3 separate regions of the Homo sapiens genome follow, and all the other regions are linked to region 3. Evidence: promoter capture Hi-C in 16 types of primary human blood cells and fetal thymus (Javierre and others, 2016). All regions are on one chromosome and are shown on one strand. The core of a region is centred on a gene start or on the middle of the fragment in contact, and the rest is flanking DNA. Distances in the headings are between cores, read along the strand shown. Region 1 has its middle 25 kb from the start of FGF1. Region 2 has its middle 7.1 kb from the start of FGF1. Region 3 holds the start of RNF14 (ring finger protein 14).

What was found. The method cuts DNA at HindIII sites, captures the fragments that hold promoters and counts their contacts. A CHiCAGO score of 5 or more calls a contact.
Region 1: a fragment that was not itself captured here is called in contact with the fragment with the promoter of RNF14 in region 3 in 2 of 17 cell types (fetal thymus and total CD4 T cells); the score reaches 5.7 in fetal thymus.
Region 2: a contact is called between a fragment that was not itself captured here and the fragment with the promoter of RNF14 in region 3, in 1 of 17 cell types (total CD8 T cells). The highest score is 5.2, in total CD8 T cells.

Annotation. Positions count from the first base shown.
Region 1 is chr5:142,709,054-142,712,434 of GRCh38, forward strand. No RefSeq gene overlaps it. Among named protein-coding and RNA genes, the nearest start is that of FGF1, 25 kb to the left of the region's middle. The HindIII fragment of the contact is 1,740 bases long and covers 923-2,662 here.
Region 2 is chr5:142,691,486-142,694,895 of GRCh38, forward strand. It overlaps a transcript of FGF1 not described here. Among named protein-coding and RNA genes, the nearest start is that of FGF1, 7.1 kb to the left of the region's middle. The HindIII fragment of the contact is 823 bases long and covers 880-1,702 here.
Region 3 is chr5:141,966,812-141,970,590 of GRCh38, forward strand. RNF14 (ring finger protein 14) reads left to right here and starts at 2,294. Exons shown (of 9, transcript NM_004290.5): 1 at 2,294-2,356. It overlaps LOC124901095 (a long non-coding RNA gene), which reads right to left and starts at 2,969. Exons shown (of 3, transcript XR_007058977.1): 1 at 2,797-2,969. RefSeq lists a silencer at 2,077-2,216 and an enhancer at 2,327-2,476. The HindIII fragment of the contact is 2,297 bases long and covers 817-3,113 here.

The DNA.
Region 1 (3,381 bases), core at 543-3,042, 740 kb after region 3:
GGAGAGTAATATTTTCATGCTTTTAACACAACATCCATTCTGCAGTCCATGGATCAAGAAGTCATTTCAACTTTCAAGTCCTATTACTTAAGAAATGCATTTTTTAAGGCTATAGTTGTCATAGATAGTGATTTCTCTGATGGATCTGGGCAAAATCAATTGAAAACCCTCTGCAAAGAATTTACCATTTTAGATGCCCTTAAGTACATTCACGATTCATGGGAGGAGGTCAGAATATCAACATTAGCAGGAGTTTGGAAGAAGTTGATTCTAACCCTCACGGATGACTTAGAGGAGTTCAAGACTTCACTAGAGGAAGTCACTGCGGAGGTGCTGGAAACAGAAAACTAGAATTAGAAGTGGAGCCTGAAAATGTGCCTGAATTGCTTCAATCTTGTAACGGTTAATACTGAGTGTTCACTTGATTGGATTGAAGGATGCAAAGTATTGTTCCTGGGTGTGTCTGTGTGAGCTTCCCTAGTTTTGAGGTTTTGGGACTTGGACTGGTTTCCTTGCTCCTCAGGTTGCAGATGGCCTATTGTGGCACTTCGCCTTGTGATCATGTGAGTCAGTACTCCTTAATAAACTCCCGTTCATTTATACATCTATCCTATAAGTTCTGCCTCTCTAGAGAACCCTAATACAAATTTCATGATAAAACTTGAACGAAAGAGGAGCTGCTTCTTATGGATGAGCAAAGAAAGTGATTTCTTGAGATGGACTCTACTCCTAGTAGAGATGCTGTGAACATTGTTGAAATGACAATAAAGGATTTAGAATATTCCGTAAACTTAGTTAATACAGAAGCAGCAGCATTTGAGAGGACTGACTCCACTTTTGAAAGAAGTTCTACTGTTATTAAATGCTACCAAATATGGTACAGAGAAATATTTTGTGAAAGGAAGAGTCCATTGACATGGCAAGCTTCATTACTGTCATATTTTAATAACTTGCCACAGCTACCTCAAACTTCAGCAACCACCAGTCTGATCAGTCAGTAACCATCAATATCGAGGCAAGACCTTCCACCAGGAAAAAGATTATAACTCACTGAAGGCTCAGACGATCATTACTATTTTTTTAGCAGCAAAGTATTTTTAATTGAGGTATGTACATTTTTAGACATAATGCTCTTGCACACTTACTAGACTACAGCATACTGTCAACATAACTTTTATAGGCACTGGGAACCAAAAATTTGTATGATTCACTTTGTTGCAATACTTGCCTTACTGCGGCAGTCTGGAACCAAACCCACAATATCTCCAAGGTCCACCTGCAAATGCAGGCAGTGGGCCAGGTATACATGCATACATATGCCTTATGTGAGGGGTGGGCACTGAGGTTAACTAGAAAGCATGAGCCTATTTTTGCCTTGTGGTAATAAGGGCCTCATATTGCCAAATTTTTCCATTTTTTTCAAAAGAAGTAGGAAAGGAAATGCAGGCTTTTAAAATGTGAAATCCCAATTTTCAATTGTTGGTTCAAAAAAAACTTAAATCTCAACTAGCCAAATAAAATGCATCTGGGGTCCACACCCAGCTACCCTATAGGATACTAATTTAAAATATCTGGACTATAGTCTATATTGATGAGAGAAGTGGGGTGAAACTTGGCATTCCCTTGCCATTAACTTCTAGCCTCCCAGTAGTCCAGGCTGCCTTGAATAAACACCAGACCATCATACAAAACAGAGTTTTTATCTTATTTATTTATTTATGAGTTGGGTGTCTTGCTGCATTACTCAGGATGGAGTGCAGTGGCACAATCATAGTTCACTGAGGCCACGAACTGCTGTGCTCAAGTGATCCTCTCACCTCAGCCTCCTGAGTAGCTGGGACTACAGGTGTATGCCACCACATAAGGCTAATTTTAATTTGTTTTTGAGAGACAGAGTCTTGCTATGTTGCCCAGGCTGGTCTTAAACTCCTGGCCTCAAGCAATCTTTCCACCTTGGCCTCTGAAAGTACTAGGATTATAGAAGTGAGCCGCTATGCTTGACCAAAACACAGTTTTTAAATCAATTTATGTCTTTACTGAAATCTCTTAAAGATGCCAAAGGGTGGGGTTTGGGTTCCATTCATAACACCAACATTTCTGAAGAATCCTCTTCTCTTGTCTCTTTCTCAAGTCCTCCTCATGACATCTGTGTTAGTCCGTTCTCACACTGCTATGAAGGACTGCCTGAGACTGGGTAATTTATAAAAGAAAGAGGTTTTAATTGACTCACAGTTCCACAGGGGTGGGAAGGCCTCAGGCGGAAGGGGAAGCAACCACATCCTTCTTCACATAGCGGCAGGAAGGAGAAGTGCCAAGCAAAGGGGAAAAGCCTTTCATAAACCCATCAGGTCTCATGAGAACTCAAGAAGAGCATGGGGATATGTGGAGGAAAAGTTAAATCTTAAATTTGAACTCAATTGAATGTGGACACAAACAATGGTCACCAAGTCCCAGAACAGGTTGCATGAGCCCCTTGAGGCGTTCATCCAGACGGTTTTGGAGAAATCTGTTCCTGTATGTTAGTTATTGAAAAACAACAAACAATCATAAAAACAAGTTGACCTTTTTGTGTTCCTTGAGTCCAGTCATGAAGGGCCCTCGTGACTGGGCCTCATGCCAAATAAGTCGTTACAAAAAGAACTAGGGTCCCATACCACGCCAAAGCTTCATGAGACCTCTCCTCATCTGTGCATGGATGAGCGGTCAACTCTGGAGCCCAGGCTGTTGCTTCCCTGTCTGGTGATGAATCCTCTATAGTCTGGTAAGTGTAGTGGCCGACTCTGGAGCCCAGGCTGTTGCTTCTGGTCTGGTGATGAATCCTCCATCGTCTGGTGAGTGTGTGTGTATATATATATAGTCTATATTGATGGGAGAAGTGGGGTGAAAGTTGGCATGCCCTTGCCATTAACTTCTAGCCTCCCAGTAGTCCAGGCTATATATATATATCTTCTCCCTTTTCCCCTTCCCATTGCAATTTGCTTGTATCATTTGCTTATTATATCTGCATTGCCATTTACATGGGATAAAGGTTGTTTACCCTTGAAGGTATTGCATGTGTGTCTTTTCTTTTCCCTTTGTGCATCTCCCTCATAGAAAAGAGTAACCGCCCCCATGATTCAATTGCCTACCACTGGGTCCCTCCCACAACACGTGGGGATTATAGGAACTACAATTCAAGATGAGATTTGGGTGGGGACACAGCCAAACCATATCAACAGCCCAGCAGCTACTTCAGTCCTCCTTAATTTATCTCTTGAATTCTCCCAAACCCAGCTCATCCCTGGCTTGTTTCTCTTATTCTTTCTCTCGCCTTCTGATCCATTCTGCTTTCGTTAGTATGTAACTCCCTGCCTTCTCTTAGGTAGACCCATCAACCCATCC
Region 2 (3,410 bases), core at 41-2,540, 720 kb after region 3:
AAATATTTACTTACTTGTTCTGTCTCCCCTACCACATACACTGGAATACAAATTCCACAAGGAGAGCAGGACTTTGTCTTCTCACTGTTATATACTCAGTACCGAGACCAGTGGTTCTCAAGCTCGAGTGTGCACTGGAATCACCTGGAGGATTTGTTAAAACACAGATTGCTGGGCTCCAACCTCAGAGTTTCTAATTCAGTAGATCTGGGGTGGGCCTACTGAAATAGAGTTTATATTTCTAATAAGTTTCTAACTGCTGCTACTGCTCCTGGTCCAGGGACTGCATTTTGAGAGCTACCAGTCTTGACGATGCCTGGCATATAGTGGGTGTTGCATATACATTTATTACATGAATGCATGAGCCTGCACATAGGATCTGCCACCTTCTTTGTAATGGCAGTTTTGTTTTCAGTTTATCATTTATTTATATTTATGGGACTATAGGCTGTGAACCTTGCCTCCTCAAAGTCTTTGTGACAGGAAGGCCCCAAGTTTTGTCAGCTAAAATTGTGCACTATCTCCATTGATTTGTCAATTGATGATTAAAAACCTAAAGTTTAGGCCAGGTGCAGTAGCTCATGCCTGTAATCCCAGCACTTTGAGAGGCTGAAGCAGGCAGATTGCTTGAGTCCAGGAGTTCAAGACCAGCCTGGGCAACATGATGAAACCCCTTCTCTACCAAAAAAAACCCCACAAAAATTAGCTGGGTGTGGTGGCATGTGCCTGTGGTCACAGCTACTTGGGAGGCTGAGGTGAGAGGATTGCTTGAGCCCAGAAGGCGCAGGTTGCAGTGAGCTGAGATCACGCCACTGCACTCCAGCCTGGATGACAGAGAAAGACCCTGTCTCAAAAAGAATAGCAGCAACAACAAACTAAAGCTTTATAGACCCAAGAGGAACCATTGAGAGACTTCTCATTCTTTGCCTCAGCAGAACATCAAACCAAAAGATGGTGCAACTCTCACTTGACATGTGACAGAGAACAGAGTGATCTCTCAGGCCTCCCCTGTAATGATTTAACAACTATCCTGTTGGTTTAGATTGGGTCTTGGTATATTGGAGTGTATGCAACATAACCCCAAGCAGGTTATGAAATATAGAAAGCCTACTGGTTTTCCTGAGTCACAAAACCTCTTGAAAATCTTGACAAGATCTATAGCTCTATTCCCCAGGACACACACACACACACGCACACACGCACACACACACACACACGCACAGACACACACACACACACAGTTTTACATTTAATTTCAGGAAGTTACAAGATGCCCCAGGCACACTTTAACCCCAAATTAAGAACTTCTGGTTTAATAATTGTCTAGCTATTTGGCAAAAACAAACAAACAAACAAACAAACAAACAAACAAACCCAATCTGGATCCCCAGTTTCTTATTTAAATTCCTGATGAATCCGAGGTTTAAGTGTAAAGAGACAAGCCTTAGAGGAAAACATTAGTTAATAAGATTTATAATCTTAGAATGGGAAACACTTTTGGAAGCATGATTTAAAACCCAGAAGTGAAAATAAAGTAGTGAGACTGATTCTAAAAAATCTAAAATGTCTGTCCAGGAAAGAGGAAAAAAACTCTCCTGGTTTAGACTCTAAGGAGAAATTAATTGATCCTATCTTTTCCATCTATCTTCTTCTCAGTGGAATTGTGTGAGTGACCTATGGCCAGGCTCTATGGGACAAGACAAGCTTCTCAGAGCTTACAGGGTGAGATCACATCCTTTGGCAAAGCCCTGTCGCGGGGTTAATTATTTCAATAGCAGTGGTTTGGGTTTTTTAAATTATTTATTTTTATTTTTTTATTTTTTGAGACAGAGTCTCACTCTGTCGCCCAGGCTGGAGTGCAGTGGAGTGATCTTGGCTCACTGCAACCTCCACCTCCCAGGATTCAAGCTATTCTCCTGCCTCAGCCTCCCGAGTAGCTGGGATTACAGGCGTGCGCCACCACACCCGGCTAATTTTTGTATTTTTAGTAGAGACAGGGTTTCACCATATTGGCCAGGCTGGTTTGGGTTTTTAAATGACTTTATTGAGATATACTTCACATACTCTGAAGTTCACCCATTTAAAATGTACAATTAAGTGGTTTTGGTATATTTACAAAGTTGTGCGGCCATCACAACTATAATTTTAGAATATTTTTGTCACCCCCCAAAGAAACCCCATATCCATTAGCAGTTCATTCCCCATTCCTCCCTCCTGCCAGGCCTAAGCAACCACTCATCTACTTTCTGTCTCTATAGATTTTCCTGTTCTGGCCGTTTCATATAAATGGAATCAAACAACATGAGCATTTTTCCTTTAGTGTGATGTCCTCAAGGTTCTTCTGTATTGGAGAACATATCAACATTTCTTTCCTTTTTATTGCTGAATAATATTTCATTGCATGGATACACCACATTTTATTTCTCTGTTCATCAGCTGATGAACATTTGGGGTGTTTCTTCTGTTTGGCTATTATTATACTGTTGTTATTCATGGGCAAGTTTTTGTGTGAACATGTGTTCATTTCTCTTGGGTCTAGCAGTGTTTTTTTTTTCTCTTAAAGATTTACCCGAAGAATTTATCTATATCTCTATCTATCTATAATCTATCTATCTATCTATCTATCTATCTATCTATCTATCTATCTATCTATGTCTATCTGCCTCTCTGTATATATGTATTCCCCCCCACCCTGCCCACCATCATAACCTCATGGAGAACCAAGCAGATTTGGGTTCTAAAGACCTCAGATCTCTTACATTCCTGGCCTGGGACCTTCTGTGCAAAGGTCACGACTCACTCTCACTATGCCTCAGTTGTGCTATCAATGGAAGGAAGGTGAGAACACCAGCTCTTTCACACTGCCACAGGATATTGTAAAGATAAAGAAAATGACGTAAATCAATAGGATCTGCTCTTTCCAAGATATGAAGCCATATGAATAGGCCAGTGTGCATCAAAGAAACAAGATACACTTGAACCAAAAGTTTTGCCAGCACAAAGATGACTGCATCAGCCGAGTCCAGTGGCTTGATGTGGGGGCACAGATGGTACAAGAAATCACCATCTCAAGATTTTGGTGTTCTTTGAGATCAGAATTTGGTTGCCTTCCAAATCCTGCCAAACACCCTGAGGGAGGACCCCAGCTTGGTCACCCTGGTGGCGGGTAGGAGAAAGGGCAGGGCCATAATGTACTGACCGGCAGCCCAAGGGGCAAGCTTAAATTCTAAAGCCTACCCTCTAGCCAACATTTCCCGCAAAGACCACCCTACCCCCGTTTAATTAAAAAGCACCCTACTCTCTGCAGAGTCCCAGAGACACCTCTTTTTGTGAAATCCCTGACATTCCTGTAGGCTCTGGGGCAGGGGAGTGACCCCTCACCCCTGGGTAGAATCTAATAAGAACTTCCC
Region 3 (3,779 bases), core at 1,044-3,543:
TTGTGAGGATTTCCCAAGCTGGTTGGTGCATGGGCTTCCTCACTTTTTTCCTCACGAAGAGGTCTCTGGTCTCCCCTCTCTGAGCACTCTGAGGTAGGGTTGCTGTGTGTTTTGCTCTTGGTCTAATTCCTTTGGCTAAACATGAATAATTATATTAATGAATGGCTTTGGAGATTCTTCTTCCGTCCTTTGCATTTTTCCGAGATATGTTTCTGGTTTTGGTATCTATTAGAAGGGTATTTTGGTTTCTGTTTTGTGACAATCAAGATTTATAGTACAGAAAATTAGAAGTGATTATTTCTATTTCAAGGTTCTTTCTGTGGCAGCCAGGTAATCCCTTGGGTGCCCTGATTTACTCACTTGGTTTTTTTCTCTCTCCTGGGTATAAGACCAACTACATAATTTACAAAGCCCAGGGCAAAATAAAAATGCAGCCTCTCATTCAGAAATTATTAAGAACTTCAAGAGGGTGAGAGCACAGCATCAAATCAAGAGCAGGGCACTTCTTTTTTATTTTAATTTTTCCATAAGTTATTGGGGTACAGGTGGTATTTGATTACATGAGTAAGTTCTTTAATGGTGATTTGTGAGATTTTGGTGCACTCATCACTCGAGTAGTATACACTGCACCCTATTTGTAGTCTTTTATCCTTCGTCCCCCTCTCATCCTTCCCCCTAAGTCCCCAAAGTCCATTGTATCATTCTTAAGAGCAGGCCACTTCTAAATCTGGGGCCCTTCTAAGTGCAGGGCCCTATGTGACTGCACGGGTTGCTGGCCCATGAATCTAATCCTGCCCGGGAGGCAATGGTGGTAAAAGCTTTAGAATCCTGTAGGCTTGGGTTAGAGTCTTAGCTCTGCAAGTTACTCTTTTGGAGGAAGAAATATATGAAAAAGCGGACACAGGAGCTTATTAGATTGTGAGGAGCACATTAGTTTGATGGGTCCCAGGAGAAGGAGCCAACATTTCTGTATTCCACTTAAGCGCTGAGAACGGTGCTTTGTACCTAAAAAAATTTTTTAATTAAGACATAATTCACATGCAATAAAATTAACTCTTCAAAAGTATACAATCCAGTGGTTTCTAGTACACTCACAAAGTTATACAACTATCACTGCTCTCTAATTCCACAATATTTTCATCACCCAAGAAACACCATATCTATTAGCGGTATCTATTAGCAGTCACTTCCCATTCCCTCCTGCCTTAGTTTCTGGCAACCACTAAACTACTTTTTGTCTCTATGGATTTGCCTATTCTGGACATTTCATATAAATTAAAAACAATATATGGCTTTTTGTGTTTGACTTTTTTTTTTTTTTTTTTGAGACGGAGTCTCGCTGTTACCTAGGCTGGAGTGCAGTGACTCACTGTAACCTCTGTCTCCTGGGTTCAAATGATTCTCCTGCCTCAGCCTCCCTAGTAGCTGGGACTACAGGTGCCCGCCACCATGCCCGGCTTATTTTTTGTATTTTTAGTAGAGACGGGGTTTCACCATGTTGGTCAGGCTGGTCTCGATCTCCTGACCTCGTGATCCACCCGCCTCGGCTTCCCAAAGTGCTAGGATTACAGGCGTGAGCCACCGCACCCGGCCTTCTAAGGGTTTTATAGTTTTAGTTCTTACATTTAGGTCGTTGATCCATATTTAGTTAATTTTTGCATATGGTGTGAGGAAGGAAGTGTATAATTTTAATTCCTGCTTAGCCTGACGATAATCATGTGACCCTTGGTAAGTTCTTGCACCTAAGTCTCAATTTCCTTATTTGTAAAGTGAGAATAACAAATGGTAGCTAAATCATAAGATTACAGTGAAGATAGAAAATTTACGTAGAGCATTTATCACACTGCTTGAAGCATCCTAACTACTCGATAAATGCGGTCGGTGTTACAGTTATAACATGAGCGATGAATGCGTGCTTCCACAGTGGAGTGCCAGAAAGACCGGCAGCATTTCTGAGAAGGTAAACGGGAGGAAGTAGGCTTGCTTAGTCCACTTGGAGAAGCAGGTCTGGGATTGTTGTGAGAGTCTCTGCCCTAGGTAGACCACTGCCTCATGATCCCCTCTAGAGATTGGTAAAAATTCGAATTCTCGGGCCCCATCAGAACTACTGAAAAGAGCCTCCTGTGAGCACAGGGCTCGCAGTAAGTGGGGGTGACGGTGGTCGCGCCGGCAGCGCCGCCTTGGGCCTGCGGGAGGCGCCCGAGAGGCAGGGGCGACCACGGCGGCTGCGCAGAGTCCTCCCTATGCCGGCGGTCGCGCCAGCGGGATCCGCCTGGCTCAGCTGACAGCTCCCGAGAACGGAAGAGGCGGCGCGCCGGTTGAGCAGGGCGTCTCTAGGCCTGGTCGGCTGGCGGCGGTGAGTGGGCCCCAGGCAAGGGCGGAGGGCGGAACTTTGGGGTTCGGCACTGCCGGGCGGCCGGAAGGTACGGTGGGGATAGCTCTCTGGGCGCGCGAGGCAGAGAAGGGGACCGGGCTGGGACTGTACACTGGGCCTCAGTCCCTCAAATCCGGGACCGGGCGTCCGCAGCTCGGCTGGCCGGGACTCCCTTCGGGACGCTGAGGAGGAAGGGGAAGGTGTGGGCCCTGCTCCTTCGGGACGCCCCAGGCTGGCCAGCAGCTCACACATCCGCATTGCGCCCTCTGATCCCAGCGTTGGGGCGGATAGCTAGCGTTGGGCCTGCCCCTGTTTTGGGGCAGTCGCCCAAACGACGCCGCACGCCTAGTGGCGAGCTGAACCCAGACTAGGACACCCGAAGACCAAATGGATAGAGTGAGAAGGAAATGGGGGTTAGCAACCTGAATTGAGGTACTGGATTCCAAGTGACAGCTTCACAAGCTGAAATCTTGTAGGGTAGGTCATGAGGAACTGTTGAAACTGCTTGGAGTAGAAGTTCTTAGCCCTGGCTGCATATTGGAATCACCTGGAGAACTTGGAAAACTACTGAGGCCTGAATTAATTGTTCTAGGGTGTGGCCTGGGTATTGAGATTTTAAAAAACAGCTCCTCAGAAGATTCTAATGTGCAGTCAGATGGAGAACACTAACCTAAAACCATAAACTGCATGAATGAATCTCTCATCCCATTTGCAAATGTTTTAACAGGAAGAAACAAAAAGCTTAATTCAATTAGCACCATATACTCCCACCTAGTAAAATAAGACAATGTGAAAGGACCTAATACAGTACATAGTAGGTGCTCAATTAATGTAAATTGATTCTGAATCTCATTCTTATCTCATTTGGGAGTTACACATCCGAGAATCTGGTTTTTAATTATGGTTTTGTATATAGTATTTTTGCATATAATTTTAGGGTGTTGATAGGATTCTCCGTAGCCCATCTATAGACCACACTCCCTTTTCCCCTCACCCCAGTGAAGAAGCCTAGCTCTAAAGCATTTAGAATAAAACTTAAAAGTTTGTGTTTGTGTACTCTTGTTTTGTTTAAGTATTTTTCTGTTACCAAAATTAACCTTGAGTGCCACTGGCAGGCTTAATTCATGAACAAGAGAGGAAAAACTGGAGGGGAGTGGCAAATGAAGGAATACAAGAAGCAGAAGAGGAAAGGAGAAAAAAACAAAACAAAAAACAAACTGAAGAGATTGTTTGTTATGGGGCATGGTGTCCTGTACTTTCATATGACCTTGGTGTTCCTCCTTAGCTCCTCCCATAGCTGAGGGCAGACAGATAAAAAGTCCTCAGTCATTGCTGGGGACATGCAAATACTCCTTTAACCACATGGCTCAGTTAGCCTGCCCTAGGAGAGTAACATGCACTTGTA